Linked DNA regions of Homo sapiens: region 1 is linked to region 2. Evidence: promoter capture Hi-C in human tissues and cell types (Jung and others, 2019). All regions are on one chromosome and are shown on one strand. The core of a region is centred on a gene start or on the middle of the fragment in contact, and the rest is flanking DNA. Distances in the headings are between cores, read along the strand shown.

Region 1 (4,600 bases), core at 253-2,752, 580 kb before region 2:
GCACTCCAGCCTGGGCAACAGAGAGAGACTCCATCTCAAATACATAAATAAGTAAAAAAATAAAGTCTCAAAGCCTTTGCTTACATAGTAACCTACCACACCAATCAGCTTGAGCTTGGCTTCTCCTCTTCCCTTCTTATTGCTAGGCTAGGTTAGGAGCCCTCCTCTGCACTTCCACTGCAGCTTGTGCATACCTACCACTTGAATAGACTATTATAATTATTTATTCTGTGTGCTCTTTCCCCAGTATACTGTGTACCCCTTGATGTCAGAGCAGTTCCTCCTTCTGGGTTCCCAAGTTCAGCCAAATGTACAGCACACAGCAGGTGCTCAATCAATGTTTGCTGAATAAACCAAATTATATGCTTTGCTCTTGTGACTCCCCTCACAATATTCTGATATCCCCCCTTCCCTTACTACCAAATCCTCCCTACCCTTCAAGGTTCAATCCAAGTCCCATCTTCTCAAGGCTTTCCCAAAGCAATCCATTTTCTTCTGAGTCCCTCCACCTCTGCTCTCCCACAGCATATACAGGCTATGTCACTTACTCTAATATCAATGAGCGATTTTCAAAATATATACAGCAGATTCATTGTGGGAAGTTACATATGTCCAGTAACAGTCTCATTGCTCAAACACTGCAAACACCTCTTTTGGAATTGCCTCCAAAGCAAGTTTATCAGTCAGAGCTGTAAACACTATTATATGATGGTCACATTTCATTTCTGAGGTCGCCCCACCACCATCACCAATGAAAATATTCATACCTATGCCAGGCACGGTGGCTCACGCCTGTAATCCCAGCACTTTGGGAGGCCGAGGCGGGAGGATCACCTGAGGTCGGGAGTTCGAGACCAGCCTGATCAACATGGAGAAACCCAGTCTCTATTAAAATACAAAAATTAGCCAGATGTGGTGGTGCATGCCTGTAATCCCAGCTACTCGGAAGGCTGAGGCAGGAGAATTGCTTGAACCCAAGAGGCGGAGGTTGCGGTGATCCAAGATCGTGCCATTGCACTCCAGCCTGGGCAACAAGAACAAAACTCTGCCTCAAAAAAAAAAAAAAGAAAATGTTCATACCTATGTCTGAATCTGCTTTTTGGTGATTCCAAAAATCAAATTCACTCTTAAAAGATGAAAATTTGCCACCAAGTAGAAGGTAACGTCAAAAGCATGTGTCAAGAAATGGCAATATGACTGGAATATAATAGATTCTAACGTGTTTGTCTTACTCCTATGCTCTGTATTAACTAACAATAATAGCAGCTACCATTTATTGGGTATCTATTATGTTCCAGGCATTTTCGGTGTATTAAATCTTTAAAAAGTCTTATAGCCACACATGCGAAGTATGTAATATTATCCCCATTTCACAAATGAGAAAACTGGGACTCAGGTTATTTGTTTAAGGTCACAGATCAAATAAAAATAGGCAAGGCACATGTCTGCTCTTTCTACTCTCCCACACTGCTTTTCGTAACTCCCAGTATTCTGCATAGTATCTTCCCAACCAGATTTACAATCCAGTGGCTTGGAAGTGCATCTTTTGGTATCTAGGCCATGTTCAATTTTTTTTTTTTTTTAAGAGACAGGGTCTCACTCTGTCACCCAGGTTAAAGCGCAGTGGTGGAATCATAGCTCAGTGCAGCTTCAAACTCCTGGGCTCAAGCAATGCTCCCGCCTCAGCAAAGGGCTGGGATTATAGGCATGTGCCACAGCACGTGGCCCAATAAATAGTTGTGACCTAAATAGTATGTGAAGAGACTACTCAGCTTAACAGACAAAACTGTTTTTAGTAGTAAAACGGTATCTTGGCTAGGCATAGTGGCTCACATCTGTAATCCCAACACTCTGGGAGGCTGAGGCAGGCAGATTGCTTGATGCCAGGAGTTCGAGATCAGCCTGGGCAACATGATGAAACCTCACCTCAAATTTTAAAAAAGTACAAAAATTAGCCAAGCGTGGTGGCACACGCCTGCAATCCCAGATATTCTGGAGCCTGAGGTGGGAGGAGCTTGAACCTGGGAGATGGAGGCTGCAATAAGCCAACATCGCGCCACTGCACTCCAGCCTGGTGACACAGCAAGACTGTCTCAAAGAAAAGAGTATCTTATTATTCCTCCTGATTACTATCAGAATTGCTGTAGTGACTATAGTTAAGCATGTAACACAGTAATAGAATAACATACACACACACACACACACAATCTGGCACAATAAGCCCAATAAATGTTTTTGCTTCCCGTAAGACACACTCAGAATGTCAACTCTTCCTCACTGTTTCCAAGCTTTGTTCAGTAGAAACAGGGGACACTAGATGCAATAATTAAAGAGAAATCTTGTAACTCCCAGCAGATCTCTGAGCCTTGTTTTGATTCCAAATCTACTCAAACTAAAGCTCTTTAAGAATAGAAGCTTCTTTAAGCCCTCAAAAATATTCCCTAAAACCCAGATTCCTCAAGGCCCTGAGAATTTGTATCTACTCCTAGGCCAGGGCAGCAAGGTAAACAGGGTTAGCCAGGTTCACAAGGACACCGACACCAGCTAGACACCAGGCAGGTGACAGCGATGAGACGACCTGGAATGGCAAAATAGAGCAGGGTAAGAGTGATCTGTTTGGCTTCTCCAGCTCCCTCCCTCATCCCAGCCAGGTTCTGCTGTCTCCAATAAGCTTCTGGGCTCTTTGTCAGATCCAGTTATTTTTCTTTTTTTTTTTTTTTTTTGAGACGGAGTCTCGCTCTGTCCCCCAGGCTTGAGTACAGTGGCACGATCTCGGCTTACTGCAAGCTCCGCCTCCCGGGTTCATGCCACTCTCCTGCCTCAGCCTCCCCAGTAGCTGGGACTACAGGCACCCGCCACCACGCCCGGCTCATTTTTGTATTTTTAGTAGAGAGACAGGGTTTCACCGTGTTAGCCAGGATGGTCTCAATCTCCTGACCTCATGATCTGCCCGCCTCAGCCTCCCAAAGTGCTGGGATTACAGGCATGAGCCACCGCACCCGGCCCCAGATCCAGTTTTAAGACTGTTTCAAGTGACAGAGCCAGAACTCCAGTCCCTAAAAAACAATTTCCAAAAGAAGTCCTGGGATGGGAGACAGGCTTTTGTAATCCAAGATTAACCCTAATTTTGAGAAAAGTATGATGGTTTCTATTTTTCTCAAATTCCCTTAAAAATGGACAGTGTTGGCGGGTGCAGTGGCTCATGCCTATAATCCCAGCACTTTGGGAGGCCAAGGCAGGCGGATCACAAGGTCAGGAGATAGAGACCATCCTGGCTAACATGGTGAAACCCCATCTCTACTAAAGATACAAAAAAATTAGTCGGGTATGGTAGCGGGTGCCTGCAGTCCCAGCTACTCGGGAGGCTGAGGCAGGAGAATGGCGTGAACCTGGGAGGTGGAGCTTGCAGTGAGCCGAGATCGCGCCACTGCACTCCAGCCTGGGCGACAGAGCAAGACTCCATCTCAAAAAAAAAAAAAAAAAAAAAAGACAGTGTTTTACTCTGCAAAGAAAAAATTCTTGAAACAAACTCTATGAACCAATAATGCTAGTTTTTGGGTTTTGGGGGGGCGGGTTTTGAGGCAGGGTCTTGCTCTGCTGCCTAGGCTGGAGTGCAGTGGCGTGATCTCAGCTCTCTGCAGCCTCTGCCTCCTGGGCTCAAGTGATCCTCCCATCCTAGCCTCCCAAGTAGCTGGGACCACAGGCACACGCTACCACGCCTGGCTAGGTTTCTTAAATTTATTTTTATTTATTTATTTATTTATTTTTTGAGACAGAGTCTCGCTCAGTCACCCATGCTGGAGTGCAGTGGTGCAATCTTAGCTCACTGCAACCACAATCTCCCGGGTTCAAGCGATTCTCCCGTCTCAGCCTCTCGAGTAGCTGGGATTACAGGCACCCGCCATCATGCCTGGCTAATTTTTGTATTTTAGTAGAGAGATGGGGTTTCACCATGTTGGCCAGGCTGGTCTTGAACTCCTGACCTCAGGTGATCTGCCTGTCTCAGCCTCCCAAATTGCTAGGATTACAGGCGTGAGCCACTGCACCCGGCCTAGTTTTTTTATTTTTTGTAGTAATGGGGTTTCACCATGTTGCCCAGGCTGGTCTTGAACTCCGTCTCAAGCGATCCTCCTGCCTCAGCCTCCCAAAGCACTAGGATTACAAGTGTGAGCCTGTGTCCCTGACCCCCACTGTACTTTTCAAATGTACATTTTACAGGTGAGAAAAGAGAATCGGTGAGAAAAGAGAATCAGTGATCTGTCCAATGTCACACAACAAATCGAGGCAATACTCAAATGATCTCTGACTAAAATATCTCAATTTTTTTCTGGTTTATCACTCTTAAGAATTGCTGCTCTAGCCAGGTACAATTGCTCACATCTGTAATCCCAGGGCTTCGGGAGGCCAAGGTGGGAGGATGGCTTGAGCCCAAGAGTTTGAGTCCAGCCTGGGCAACACAGACCTCATCTTAAAAAATAAAAATAAAAAAAAATTTTAATGAGCCAGACATGGTGGCAACACTCCTGTAGTCCTAGCTACCACAGAGAAAGAATGGAAAAGTGGGAAGCAAGAAAGCCTGCAGACATTTAAAAGTGCTCAG
Region 2 (4,668 bases), core at 460-2,959:
ACCCAACTAATTTTGTATTTTTAGTAGAGATGGGGTTTCTCCATGTTGGTCAGGCTGGTCTCAAACTCCTAACCTCAGGTGATCCGTCCGCCTCGGCCTCCCAAAGTGCTGGGATTACAGGCGTGAGCCACCACCCCCAGCCTTACTTAGGAATTTTCTAAAGGGGAGACTCCCTATTTTGTCAGGATTTCATCCTCTTTAATCCTAAATGTCCATCTTTATATGAGGATCCTCATAAAAAGACTCATCCCAGAGTCACAGAAAGGACAAAATGAAATGAAAAAAGAAAAAAAAACAGTATTGTAAAAGAACTAATCTGTAAGATGCAAAGTAGTATTAGCACTGGATTTCCGGTCAGCTCCTGGAGGGCTAAGGGGTTGTTTTGTTCATTTCAGCTTCTCAGTCAGTATCAGTTGGGTGGTCAACTCCAGGGGACACTATTCATGTTATATTTAACTGGAAGAATTTGCCATTCACAGAAAAGGCAATGTGAATGCTGCTCCCCAGAGCACCATTCACAGAAAATGCAATGTGAATGGTGCCTCCTGGAGATTTTGCCTTGCTTAGCAAGGTGCTAGAGCTAAGGACTCAGAAATGTTTGTTAAGTGAGTGAATGGAATCCCAGGCTACTTCTTACTCATTCCAACCCCCAGGACGAAAAAGAAAAGTTGACAAGGGGTGAGGAGAGTGGGGGAGGAGAAAGGGTGATCCTTAGCTACAAGGCTTCTATGAGATTGGGTGTGGGTCGGTGCTGATGGGAGTGCAGGGGAGGTGAGCAGGGAGAGGATACTAAAGCAAGCGTCCTGTTCCCAGGGTTCCTAATTTTCCTAGAAATATTACTTCTCTCCGATCTCAGTGCAGAACCATACTGATGATTTTACAGCCCTGGATTTGTCAAGTTCTTATGTTGATGTATGCTGTTCATTCATTAAACAGAAGAACAAACAAACGCAGTTAGCGCCTACCATAAGCCAAATTCTGTGCTGGAGGTAGAGTGGTGAACAGGACAGCAAAGGTTCTACCCCGCATGGGGAAGCAATCACCCTCGGGAGGTGGTACTTCAATTGCGACTAGAAGAAAAAAGAAGAGTGAGTGATTCAGACCAGGCCAGGCAGTCAGGAAGCTTGAGGGACATAGCCCTCTGAAGCGGGTCTGGAGCAAGGGAGTGAGGGAGACCAGTGGACAGGGGCCAAATCAGGCAGGGTTTGTGGAGACTGTATTTTACCCAAGGTAATTGGGAGCCAGTAAATAATTTTAAGAAAAAAAAAGTGATATGGGCAAATTTTAATTTTTCAAAATGGAGCGCAGGTTGGAAGAGGCAAAAGTAGAGGCAGGGAGAGCCATTAAGAAGCTACTGCGGCTGTCTTGGCGACACATGATGGTGTCTTTAACCAGGGTGGTGCCAGAAGAGATGGAGAGAAGTGGATAGTTACAGGTACGTTTAGGAAGTAAAATCCGACAGGGGTGGTGACAGTAAACAGCCCTACCTCAAAAAAGATCATGGAAAACACTTCAGTTTGCTCATTAACCCATCAGGCGTCCGCCTTCCCTTAACCCTATCGCCTCGATATATGGACACAGCAGGGGGACGAGGGGCGGGGCAGGCGCCCACAAAAATCCGGGAACTTTAATTTAAACTGTGTGGACTTCAGCGGAGAGTAGAATAAAGAACACAGGAACTTCCGGTTACTCCGGAAGTGGAAGCTTCATACTCCTAAGCTCCTCCCCCGGCGGCGAGCCAGGGAGAAAGGATGGCCGGCCTGGCGGCGCGGTTGGTCCTGCTAGCTGGGGCAGCGGCGCTGGCGAGCGGCTCCCAGGGCGACCGTGAGCCGGTGTACCGCGACTGCGTACTGCAGTGCGAAGAGCAGAACTGCTCTGGGGGCGCTCTGAATCACTTCCGCTCCCGCCAGCCAATCTACATGAGTCTAGCAGGTAAGCCCCACCCCCACGGTAAGCCCCGCCCATTTGTCTTGCTCCCGCCCCCTGCGCCCCCAATACGCCTCTGCAATCCCTGAACCTTAGTTTCCCCACGAGGTCTCTTATGAATGTGAGTGAAGCCCCTAAGGTGATGAGAGCCTTACCAGCCTCTCTTACTTTCCCAGAAGCTTTCATTTACTTATTTGTTCAGTCAAAAGGGTATTTATTAAATACATTCGGGCCACAATGTCTAGGAATGGCACAGAAATCAGACCAGGGTCCCGCCCATTGGGACTCACAGTCCCCACGGGGACATGAGCCTTTTCAAGTGCAAGGCAGAGAATGATTTGAGCCCCTGAAAGACTCTTTGATTAGGAAGCATTTGGGATAGGAAGGTGTCAGTTCCGGCTTTGAAGACGTGGGGGCAGGGATCATCTTGGAACGTTTTGTTTGAAGGAGGGACTTTGGACTGGTACATTCGATTTGGACCATAGTGGGCAAAGAACCAACGTATTGAGCACTCACTGTGTGACAGGTGTCACAATATGTCAAGTAATTTTTATCACACCCTTTGAGATAGTTTCTCTAATCCCAGTTTTACAGATGGGGATTAGAGAGATTAAATGCCCTGCCCAAGGTCACACAGCCAGTATGTAGTAAAGTGGAGTTTCCAGTTCTGGCCTGTTTGACCACAAGCTTGTCCTCTTTACTATTATACCACTTTGCATTCCAGACAGAGGGAACAGAGAGAATGGATGCCCTGGGCAGATGTGGGCACATCCAGGAGCTTTATTTACTCAGGGAGCAGGGTACATGAACAGGAGTAGTGACCAATACGGTTGGAAAGGCAATTTGGAGCCTCAAAAGTCAGGTTGAAGAATTTGGGCTTCATTTTCATAGGAAGGGAGTAAGATAGCAAGAACTCCTTCCAGGAGAGTAAGAGCAAATCCTATATTCAGGAAGGACAAATATAAACCCAGGTTTCCATAGATGAGTTCATCAGATGCCAACATCTTGATGGACTTGAGCAAAAGGAGAGGAAATGTCTGCCAAGGTAGAAAGATCATCTGAGCCCTGGAGTTCAAGACTAGCCTAGGCAACATGACAAGATGCCTTCTCTACAAAAAATAAAAGAATTAGCCAGACATTGTGGTCTCGCTACTTGGGAGGCTGAGGTGGGAGGATCGTTTGAGCCCAGGAGGTCAAGGCTGTGGTGAGCCATGCTCTCCCCACTGCACTCCAGCCTGGATGAAAGAGCGAGACCCTGTCTCAAAAAAAAAAAAAAAAAAAAAATGCCGGGTGCGGTGGCTCGTGCCTGCAATCCCCGCACTTTAGGTGGCAGAGGCAGGCAGATAACCTGAGGTTGGGAGTTCAAGACCACCCTGACCAACATGGAGAAACCCCATCTCTACTAAAAATACAAAATTAGTTGGGTGTGGTGGTGCATGCCTGTAATCCCAGCTACTCGGGAGCCTGAGGCAGGAGAATCGCTTGAACCCAGGAGGCGGAGGTTGCAGTGAACCGAGATCGCACCATTGCACTCCAGCCTGGGCAACAAAAACAAAACTGTCTCAAAAAAACAAACAAAAAAAAGACGAATATCTCTAATTGCTCACTAAAATATGCATACATACGTACATACACCTTCCCCTATGTGTACATCTCATCATCTCTCATTCATTCAAAGGGGAAGCTAGAATTTTGAGATTTCTCCTGGTTCTCTCCAACTTACAGGCCCTCTTGGCCTACATTTGCGCTTGGACCCCATTCATGCTCTCTCTTTCCTCTCTGTGCTGGGGAGTTCACCAGGCCACATTTGTCTGTTTCAGGCTGGACCTGTCGGGACGACTGTAAGTATGAGTGTATGTGGGTCACCGTTGGGCTCTACCTCCAGGAAGGTCACAAAGTGCCTCAGTTCCATGGCAAGGTGAGTTGGAGGGTCAGGGTAGGCATATGGTAGTAGCGTGGTAGGAGTAATATACCCCCTGGTTGGACCACACTGTCCAAGCAGTCTGAGGCATGGGGTAATGCGTGTGTGTTTGGGGCAGCTACCTGTTCTCCCCAAAATCTGCTGGTTTCCATAGAATTGGATAGGACCCATGTGTCCTGCCTCTGGATTTGGAGTAGCAATATCTGGAAGGCTTTGGAGTCTCCCCAGAGAGTGGTGCTGGGCCTCTTAGAGTGGTTGAGATGCCCACCTTACTGCAGGGACAAATTCCCTTACCTACTGTGGCTTGTTTCCTGTTGCTTCTCCAGTAGGGGTCTGGATTCACAGTAATATGCTTCAGCTTGTCTAGCGAGGCACAGTTTGCTGGTACCTTTCTTTCTTTTGTTTTTTGTTTTTTGTTTTTTTTTTTGAGATGGAGTCTCCCTCTGTCGCCCAGGCTGGAGTGCAGTGGCATGATCTTGGCTCACTGCAACCTCTACCTCCCAGGTTCAAGCAATTCTCATGCCTGAGCCTCCCAAGTAGCTGGGACTACAGGTGTGTGCCACCACACCCAGCTAATTTTTTGTATTTTTTTTTTTTTTTTTTTAAGTAGAGATGGGGTTTCACCATGTTAGCCAGGATGGTCTCAATCTCCTGACCTTGTGACCCTCTCGCCTCAGCTTCCCAAAGTGCTGGGATTACAGGCGTGAGCCACCGCGCCTGGCCTGCTGGTACGTTTCAATCCAGTATTATCTCATTCTGGCCTGTTGAGGTTGGCAGGAAGTATTCACCCCAGTTTTTCACAGAGTAAGCTGAGGCTCAAA

Evidence for each region. The method cuts DNA at HindIII sites, captures the fragments that hold promoters and counts their contacts. A contact is called where the count stands out against the background at its distance.
Region 1: a fragment that was not itself captured here is called in contact with the fragment with the promoter of PGAP3 in region 2 in 1 of the 25 tissues and cell types used here (aorta).

Annotation. Positions count from the first base shown.
Region 1 is chr17:40,268,489-40,273,088 of GRCh38, reverse strand. The region is part of intron 5 of WIPF2 (WAS/WASL interacting protein family member 2); the gene reads right to left. Among named protein-coding and RNA genes, the nearest start is that of CDC6, 17 kb to the left of the region's middle. The HindIII fragment of the contact is 6,236 bases long and covers 1-4,600 here.
Region 2 is chr17:39,685,098-39,689,765 of GRCh38, reverse strand. PGAP3 (post-GPI attachment to proteins phospholipase 3) reads left to right here and starts at 1,709. Exons shown (of 8, transcript NM_033419.5): 1 at 1,709-1,932; 2 at 3,747-3,844. The coding sequence starts at 1,752. It also overlaps a transcript of ERBB2 not described here. RefSeq lists a silencer at 336-630 and enhancers at 1-870, 1,581-1,690. The HindIII fragment of the contact is 945 bases long and covers 1,415-2,359 here.